Regions from separate parts of the Homo sapiens genome. Here region 2 is linked to region 1. Evidence: promoter capture Hi-C in 16 types of primary human blood cells and fetal thymus (Javierre and others, 2016). All regions are on one chromosome and are shown on one strand. The core of a region is centred on a gene start or on the middle of the fragment in contact, and the rest is flanking DNA. Distances in the headings are between cores, read along the strand shown. Region 1 holds the start of GTF3C1 (general transcription factor IIIC subunit 1). Region 2 holds the start of FUS (FUS RNA binding protein).

Region 1 (4,579 bases), core at 1,506-4,005:
AGTTATCCGCCCACCTCTGCCTCTCAAAGTGCTGGGATTACAGGCTGATAAACTCTTTAAGTAGGTTAAAAGACTTGATTCCAGTCCAATTTGGCTGGAATCTGAACTCAGACCTTCCTCAAAGTCTGGGTTCTTCCCTTGCTAGTTGACTTTTAGCATGCCACTTGACCCCTCAGGGCCTCGATTTTCTCTTCAGGAAAATGGGGAGAATATTACCCATCTCCTAAGGTTTCTGTAAAAATTAAATAACATGTTGTATTAAGGATCTTAGCACAGTCCTAGCTATTCCTCATTCCCTACCTCCAATTCCACACTTCAGCCACTTACTTCACATTTGCTGTTCTCTGTCCAACAGTCCTCTTTGCCAACTGGCTGCCTAAATCCAACCTTTAAGTTTTGTCTCGAACATTATTTTATTTTATTTTTGAGACAGAGTCTCACTCTGTCACCCAGGCTGGAGTGCAATGGCTGAATCTCAGCTCACTGAAACCTCTGTCTCCCAGGTTCAAGTGATTCTCCTGCCTCAGCCTCCTGAGTAGCTGGGATACAGGCATGCGCCACCACGCCAGGCTAATTTTTGTATTTTTAGTAGAGATAGGGTTTCACCACGTTGGTCAGGCGGGTCTTGAACTGCCGACCTTGTGACCCATCCACCTCAGCCTCCCAAAGTACTGGGATTGCAGGCATGAGCTGCTGCACCCGGCCTGTCTTGGACATTATTACCTCTTGGAACCTCCCCTGACCCTCACAATATGGCTTAAGAGCACAGACGCTGAAAATAGCCTGGGTTCAAATCAATTCTTAGTCACTTATTGCCCCCAGAACCTTAGGTTACATAATCCCTCTCTGTGACTCAGTGTCTTCCTCTGTAAAATGAGGACGATAACAGCACCTACCTCATAGGTGAGGATCAAGTGAATTTAATCTCCTGTTTAACGGAGTTTAATCAAGTGAGGATCAAGTGAGTTTAAGCTCCTAAAGCTTCTAGAATAGATTCTTAGAACAGCAATGTGGCCGGGCGCCGTGGCTCACGCCTGTAATCACAGCACTTTGGGAGGCCGAGAGGTGCGGATTGTCTGAGGTCAGGAGTTCGCGACCAGCCTGGCCAACATGATGACACCCCATACCTACTAAAAATGCAAAAATTAGCCGGGCGTGGTGGAACATGCCTGTAATCCCAGTTACTCAGGAGGCTGAGGCACGAGAATCGCTTGAACCTGGGAGGCGGACGGAGGTTGCAGTGAGCCAAGATCGCGCCACTGCACTCCAGCCTGGGCCACAGAGAGAGACTCTATCTCAAAAAAGAAAAAAAAGAACAGCACCTCACCCATGAAGTCCCTGATAAATGTCAGCTTTTAGCATTATCGCTAATTGTCCTGATACGCAGATCTCGAGTTGCCCTAGGCTATCTGCACCGAATGAATATACCATGAGGGTCTGTTGATCTCAGGAGTCTCCAGTCTGGCTCTAAAGTGTCTTTCCTGCTCTAATCCTATCCTCCAATGTAAAGGAAACATTCTTTTAAGCCTGAAGAATATCCCCAATCCTGTTCGCCATTACCCCAAAACACACACAGGGACAAAACGGGACATCACTAGATTCTCCCCCTCCCCCCGCCAACTCCATCGGACTCCAGGGCCCTGCCAGGCCTGAGGGACCCCAGATTAGCCTTACCGCCGTGCCCCAACTCAATCAACAGGCCTCCGGTACTTGCACAGCCCCACTCCATTCCCCCGCCCTGCCCCCAGCTCCATCAGCCCCCGGGCCCTGCGCCCGCCCGCCCGCCCGCCAGGCCAGGCCGCCCGCTGACCGGTCCTGGAGCTGTAGGTCGGGTCGCTCCCGAGGCTCCTCATAGAAGCTGATGCCCGGGTGCGTGGCGAGGGCCCGCCAGAGAAACTCCTGCGTGCAGGGTTCCAAAGGCAGCGGGAAGGGCGGCACTCGCGTCTCCAGCCGGCTCCACAGCGCTGGCAGACACAGGCCATCGAGCCCCTCCAGAGCGACTTCGTCCAACAACGACTCCAGCGCGTCCATTGCTACTTCAGTCGGCGGCGCCCGGGGCGCATGCGCAACGCACCGCCAAGGGCCTTGGTCCATCGCGCCTGCGCACAACGATCCGGGGCCCGGGGAGGTGGGTCAGACCCAGGGTTCGGAGGAGGAGTTCCAGCGCGCCGGCATGACGTCACTCCCCGGGGGCGGGCTCAGTAAGTGGAGCTCCACCGTCATTGGTCCGGGGCCCCGCAGTAACCAGGGGAACTGCAAACAGTGTAGAGGCCGCTTCCGGTTCGAGCTCCCGGAACCGCCGCCTCTAGGGATGGACGGTGAGTGTCTGTGGGCCCCTCCGGGAGGTCGGGCTGTTATTCTCCCATCCCTCCCGACCGCGCTTTGGGCAGAATCCTAGGCCATGAACCCCTGGACCACCACTTCCTGACCCAAGGGGGTCTCCGAAATGAGGGATAGGGAGGCTTAGTGGTCTGGAACGCGGAGGAGAGCCTGGGGGAGTGGTCAGTGCTGTGACCATTCTGCTCGGCTGTGGTCGTGAAGGAAACCGGTACTGGCCGGGAGCTCAGTGAAGGGATGTAGGGTGGGGAAGGAGAAGTAGAGGTCTGAGGAGGGTCTTGTGAATGTTGGGATGTGGAACTGTCGGATTTGGGAGTTGATATGAAAACAAGCTTGATCGTGGGAGTGCAATCGTCAGGTGCTGGGAAAGGGAATTGGTGTGGGGGGTGAAGGGAGTTTAGGAAATACTCCCTTTCTGTGCCTTGGCGTTAATAATAATAGCTCCCTTTAACAAAGTGCTTTCCAGTACCAAGAACTCTGTAAGTACTCTTGGGCAACACCTCGCTAAGCTTCATACCAGCCTTTTGAGTTCAGCGTTGTTCCATTTTACAGATGATGAAACTGAGGCTCAGAGGTGTTAAGGAACTTGCCCAAAGTCAAACAACCAGCATGTAGCAGAGTGAGTGAGAAACCCAGACACCCTGTCTCTGGAGCTGAATTATGGAGCTTGAGATTTGGACCGGTTTTGAGGGTCCCTTTATTCCAGAGGTTGTAAATGCAGATGTCTGCAGAGGAGAGTCTAGTGAGCCGGATTGAGGCTGTAACTGAAAATCAATTCCTCACCTGAAAGGAAAGCTGCTCACCAAGCACCAGCTGATTGTCCTCTTGGGGTACTTCTCAAAAACAGGGTTGGCCAGTCACTCTGAAGGCCAGAGACAGCTTGTGGGCCCCCATTTAGGGATCCCTGATTAGAGTCATGGTATTGACAATTGGAAGCAAATGGAAAATAGGCTATTCTGATATCTCACTTTGCAGATGGGAAGACTAAAGTCTAGAGAGACTGGTAGGGTCTGGGCTAGAGTCCAGATCATTTTTCTAATTACAGCACTGTCCCTCACTTCTCGGGAATTTGTTCCTGGGGAATCCACATTCTTTTTATATTCACTGAATGTAGTGTGGAGAAAATGTTTTTAATTGAACATTCTGTCATATGCTTAAAATATATCTTTTCCCTTTGTACTTTAGAGGTACTATAAAATGTGCTTTACCATTTTGCCTTCTGGAAAGGTCAATGTAATGTTGCTATAGAACATCAGTCCTCAAACCTTTTAAGCCTTGGGACCCCTGTATGCTCTTACCTCAAAGAGCTTTGTTTATTTATATTTATGATATTTACCATATCGAAGATTTAAACTGGGAAAATCTTAAGATGTCCATTAATTAGTTCCTTTAAAAATAATAAAAATTGGGCCGGGCATGGACTCGTGCCTGTAATCCTAGCACTCTGGAAGGCCAAGGCAGGTGGATCACTTGAGGTCAGGAGTTCGAGACCAGCCTGGCCAACATGGTGAAACCTTGTCTCTACTAAAACTTAGCCGGACGTGGTGACACATGTCTGTAATCCCAGCTACTTGGAAGGCTGAGGCAGGAGAATCATTTGAAGCCGAGATCTTGCCACTGCACTCCAGCCTGGGCAACAGGGCGAGACTCTGTCTCAAAAAAACCCAATAATAATAATAATAATTGGCCAGGTGCAGTGGCTCATAATAATCATAATAATAATTGGCCATGTGCAGTGCCTCACACCTGTGATCCCAGCAGTTTGGGAGGCTGAAGTGGGTGGATTGCTTGAGCTCAGGAGTTCAAGACCAGCCTGGGCAACATAGCTAGACCCTGTCTCAAAAAAACTCCAACAACAATAAACCCATTACTTCTGAACATAAATAATATTTTTAATGGAAAACAATTACATTTGCCTCCAAAAAATTAATAGGAAGAGTAGCATTATTTTATGTTTTTTCAAGTTTATTCAATAGAAATAGAAAAAACTACTCTCATTTCTGCTTCAGGATTCAAACTGTTTTTTGTTATGCTGTTTTGGCTGGTGTGTATGAAGAAAATTTGGCCTCATACAAATATATAATTGGAGCAGAGAGAAACATTTTAATTGCCTTTTCAGATAACTGTAGACACTCTCCTTTCATACTATACAAAATTTAGCAAATGCCAGTTTCTTTTTTCTTTTTTTTTTTTTTTTTGAGAAAAAGTCTCACTGTCGCCCAGGCTGGAGTGCAGTGGCACG
Region 2 (4,234 bases), core at 723-3,222, 3.6 Mb after region 1:
TTGTTGTGAAAAATAAAATCAAGAGTTTACTCAGTCAGAACAGGGCCTGACAGTAAGTCTTGTTAAAGTGTTAGCTATTACATATTATAGATGAGCACAATGTATATCATTATTAAATGTCAGCTTTATTATTATTATTTGTTTTGAGACAGTCTTGCTCTGTTGCCCAGGCTGGAGTGCAGTGGCACGTCTTGGCTCACTGCAACTTCCGCCTCCTGGGTTCAAGCGATTCTCCCATCTCAGCTTCCTGAGTAGCTGGGATTACAGATGCGCGGACGACGCCTGGCTAATTTTTGTATTTTTAGTAGAGACGGGGTTTCACCATGTTGGCCAGGCTGGTCTCGAACTCCTGACCTCGTGATCCACACGCCTCGGCCTCCCAAAGTGCTGGTATTACAGGCGTGAGCCACCGCACCCGGTCAGCTTTATTATTAAATGTTAACTTCATCTGCTTTGTACACGAATGCATACCCAGTGCCCAGAACAGTGCCTGGAACATACTAGGTGCTAAATAAATATTTGTGACTTAATGCATGAATAAGGGTGGACTTCCTTTCTTTTGCTCTCACTGGAGAGTTGAACTCTCCTTCCAAAGGCGGTGGGGTGGATATTGGCATATTCAGGGCCTTTAGGGCTGAAGTCAAGGGCTTAGTGGGGCTTAATTTGTGGGCGGGCCCAGGGCATGGCCCTCATTGTTTCTCTAGAAAGACGTGTCCAACCCTCAAAGGACCTTCTGAAATCCCGCTGAAAGGTTAAGTTGGGAAGGAAAACCTGCATGCCTATGTATCAGGAATTAACGTCTTTTGTCTTGTTTTATTCAGTAGTTTCAAATTGCCTTCTCCAGGCAAGGCTGATGAAAGTGCAAGTTGCAAGTTAATTTGAATGTTTCTTTTTGCTTTTGCTCTCACAGGAAGTGAAAAGGCGACCAAACACTCTAGCATTCATGCCACCAAAAAGAGGAGTGTTTTGCAGTTACAAGACCTGGATTCGAATCACGACTCCTCTTAGCTGCCCTGTAATCAGGCACAATTACTTGGGTCTCTGAGTCTCACTTTCCTTATCTAGAAAACGGAGGTATCTTTACTTCCTTCGTAAGACTGATGACAAGGAAATTATCTGTGCATTTTGAAACCACTTAAGCCTTGTACACGTTTTATTTCTGGGATCGCCCTGGTAGGGCTTCAGAAAAATAAAAAGGAGGTCCCTGAGAAAAGGCTGGGTACCGTACATCTGAGGTCAACCCTCTCTGGTCCCAAGGATGGCCTGGGCTGTTCCGCCCCGTGGCTCCCCAGGGGCAAAGCCATGAGGATCCGGGTGAGAGCCCAGTGCTGGACGAGCCCGGGGCCCAGGGGTCCCGGCCGAAATCCCTGCTGTCTTTCAGGTCAAACGTCATAATCCCCGAACCCCAGAAAGGCCGAAAGGCAAGGCAACCCTGAAAGACGACGAAGTCAACCTCAGGGCGCAGGAGAGGGAGGGCCAGTGTGCTGCCGACGAGGGAGGCTGGAGCCGCGGGGACGAGGCGCCCCATACAGCGGCAAGAGGGTGGAGGGCAGGAGCTCGCCATCCTGGGTGAAAGCGGGGCCCAGCGAAGGGGCCCGGCCACAGGAATCTCGGTTCCACCCCGCTACTCCCGGCTGTGACTCCAGTTTCGTCCCCAGCCGCCGGGACCGCCCCCTCGCCCCGCCCCCAGCGGGCACTCAGGCCGTACCACTGTGCCTTCATGGGGGTGGAGATAGATCGTGGGCTAGTCCTGCCGAGGAGAGAGGGGTTCTTCCTCAAAAAATATGATTATGTATAGTATTCGCATGATTCTAGTTAACTTGTTTCCCTTCTGCCTGCTCGGACCCTCTACCTGCCCTACGAAGGGGGCGGAGTGCGTTCCTGCCTCCCCCTGCTCTTCCGCGTTTGGTGCGCGCCTGCGCGGTGCGTAGGCGGCGGAGCGTACTTAAGCTTCGACGCAGGAGGCGGGGCTGCTCAGTCCTCCAGGCGTCGGTACTCAGCGGTGTTGGAACTTCGTTGCTTGCTTGCCTGTGCGCGCGTGCGCGGACATGGCCTCAAACGGTAGGTAAGGGCGCGAGGCGACGGCGGCGGCGCACCCGGCCGAGGCCTCCCAGCTGGGCTTTTCGTTTTCAGTGGGACCGGGGCGGCGATCCCGTGTGGGATTTTTTGGCGCCCCTGTGGCGGGAAGCCGCGGAGAAGAGTAACTGGAGGAGGCTGGTGTCGCCATTTTGTTTCGCTCCTCTGGCCCTCGCGCGCGGGGCGGGAAGTCTTTTCTTTGCAGTCCGTTTGCTTGGGGTGGGCGTTGGGAGGGACGCTTCTTAGGGGTTTGAAGCGTCAGGTGAGGGTGGAAAACGCCCATTCTCCGTGGCCTCGCCTCCCCCAACTCCCGGCCCCGCGCTCGAGCCCGCTTTGTCGCAGTGCTGCATCCGGGCACTCGCGGCGCGCACGCGCTCTGCGGGCCCCTCCCCCTTCGCGGCGCGGGTACCCCTTCCCCGCCTCGTGTTGGTTCAGCTTTCTGTCGCGAGACCCTTCGCGGAAGACTCGGCGGCGCGCGTCCGGTGTGAGCCTTGTCCCTCAGTGGTCCTTCGCGAATGGGCGGGATCGCTCCGTTCCCGCCTGGGTTGCCACGCGGCTGGGGGCGGAGGCTCGGGATCGGGGCCGCCCTCTAGCTTAACGGTTTGGCGGCGGTGGTCAGGGTTCGACCAACGGACTTGGGGACGGCCCGAGAGTTTTTCCCGCCTAAATTTCTTTCTTTTTTTTTTTGGAGACACGGTCTTCCTCTGTCGCCCAGGCTGGAGTGCAGTGGTGCGATCTCAGATCACTGCAACGTCCACCTCCTGGGTTCAAGTGATTCTTCTGCCTCAGCCTCCTGAGTAGTTGGGATTATAGGCGCCCGCCACCACAGCCCGGCTAATTTTTGTGTTTCTTAGTAGGGGCGGGGTTTCACCATGTTGGTCAGGCTGGTCTCGAACTGCTGACCTCAGGTGATCCGCCCGCCTGGGCCTCCCGAAGTGTCGGGATTACAGACGTAAGCCAACCACGCCTGGTCTAAATTTCTTTTTTCTGAGATAGGGACGGAGAAGAACGGCCGCCCGAGGCCACACCCTCTCCTGGTCCTCTTTCCCTTTTCCTGCGGGGGAAGCGCCGCGTTTCCTGTGCTGGGAGGATGAGTTGATCTTGTTCGTGTATCTTAAGTGGGGCTTTTCAAAAGCGCTTTTGTTGCTTTTTGTTCGCTGGGGGAAGGCAGGGTAGGTGAGAAAACGGAACCATCTGGAGTCCCAGGGCTGGGGACTCGAGTACCTGTTGACTTTCGCCTCCTAAGGCGAGCAGTTGCATGATCTCTGTCATTTGGGGTCCAAGGGCTCTTTTGATTCTCTGGCTTTGCACTAAAAAGCCCACTTCATCTCCGGGATTGGTCAAAGAGTGAAGAATGGCCTTTTTTGAGACTTTCTTATTCTGTGGGTCTGGGCTGAGAGAGCAGAGGCCACAATCTGAACACTGTTCGAATTCAAACCTGTGCCACTTTGGTAGTTCTGCGACGTTGGGAGAGTTAGTCTCTTGACTCCTGGCGATAATGGCTTTCTCATAGAGTGGATGAAACGAATGCGCGATGTTTTAGAGCAATCACTGACATGAATTGGGCTTGCAGAAAATTGTGGATGTCCACCAAGACCTTGGTTTTTCCAATGGTTAAGGCTTCTGGGACTCTGTAGAAACTTGCATTTTCTTCACTTTTTCTTTATTGTAAGAACACTTGGCTGATAACGCCAGTTTGTTCCTCTTCTCAACCAGTGTCTCATGGAGGAATTTTATGCCCTTTGTTGCAACATGGTCCTATTTTTATTTTTTTTTTTGAGATGGAGTCTTGCTCTGTTGCCAGGCTGGAGTGCAATGGCTCACTGCAACCTCTGCCTCCCGGGTTCAAGCGATTCTCCTGCTTCACCTCCCGAGTAGCTGGGATTACAGGCGTGCGCCACCATGCCCGGCTAATTTTTTGTATTTTTATTAGAGATGGGGCTTCACCATGTTGGTCAGGCCAGTCTCGAATTCCTGACCTCAAGTGATCCACCCACCTCGGCCTCCCAAACTGCTGGGATTACAGGCATGATCCACCGTGCCTGGCCTACGTGGTCCTTTTTATTCATCAGTGCTTGAGTTAAGGAATTTAGCTTTAATTCAACTCTTTCAGAGTGGCAGCTGAAGATAATGTGATTGTATTTTTCTTTTGCAGATT

The links. The method cuts DNA at HindIII sites, captures the fragments that hold promoters and counts their contacts. A CHiCAGO score of 5 or more calls a contact.
Region 2: the fragment with the promoter of FUS here is called in contact with a fragment that was not itself captured in region 1 in 1 of 17 cell types (fetal thymus); the score reaches 11.8 in fetal thymus.

Annotation. Positions count from the first base shown.
Region 1 is chr16:27,547,860-27,552,438 of GRCh38, forward strand. It overlaps GTF3C1 (general transcription factor IIIC subunit 1), which reads right to left and starts at 2,054. Exons shown (of 37, transcript NM_001520.4): 1 at 1,811-2,054. The coding sequence starts at 2,031. It overlaps KATNIP (katanin interacting protein), which reads left to right and starts at 2,285. Exons shown (of 28, transcript NM_015202.5): 1 at 2,285-2,318. The coding sequence starts at 2,312. RefSeq lists enhancers at 1,951-2,030, 2,041-2,150. The HindIII fragment of the contact is 177 bases long and covers 2,668-2,844 here.
Region 2 is chr16:31,178,167-31,182,400 of GRCh38, forward strand. It overlaps FUS (FUS RNA binding protein), which reads left to right and starts at 1,973. Exons shown (of 15, transcript NM_004960.4): 1 at 1,973-2,061; 2 at 4,232-4,234. The coding sequence starts at 2,049. RefSeq lists enhancers at 859-918, 1,210-1,970, 1,429-1,498, 1,971-2,732, 2,733-3,493 and 5 more and silencers at 1,659-1,728, 2,369-2,518, 2,639-2,688. The HindIII fragment of the contact is 6,651 bases long and covers 1,949-4,234 here.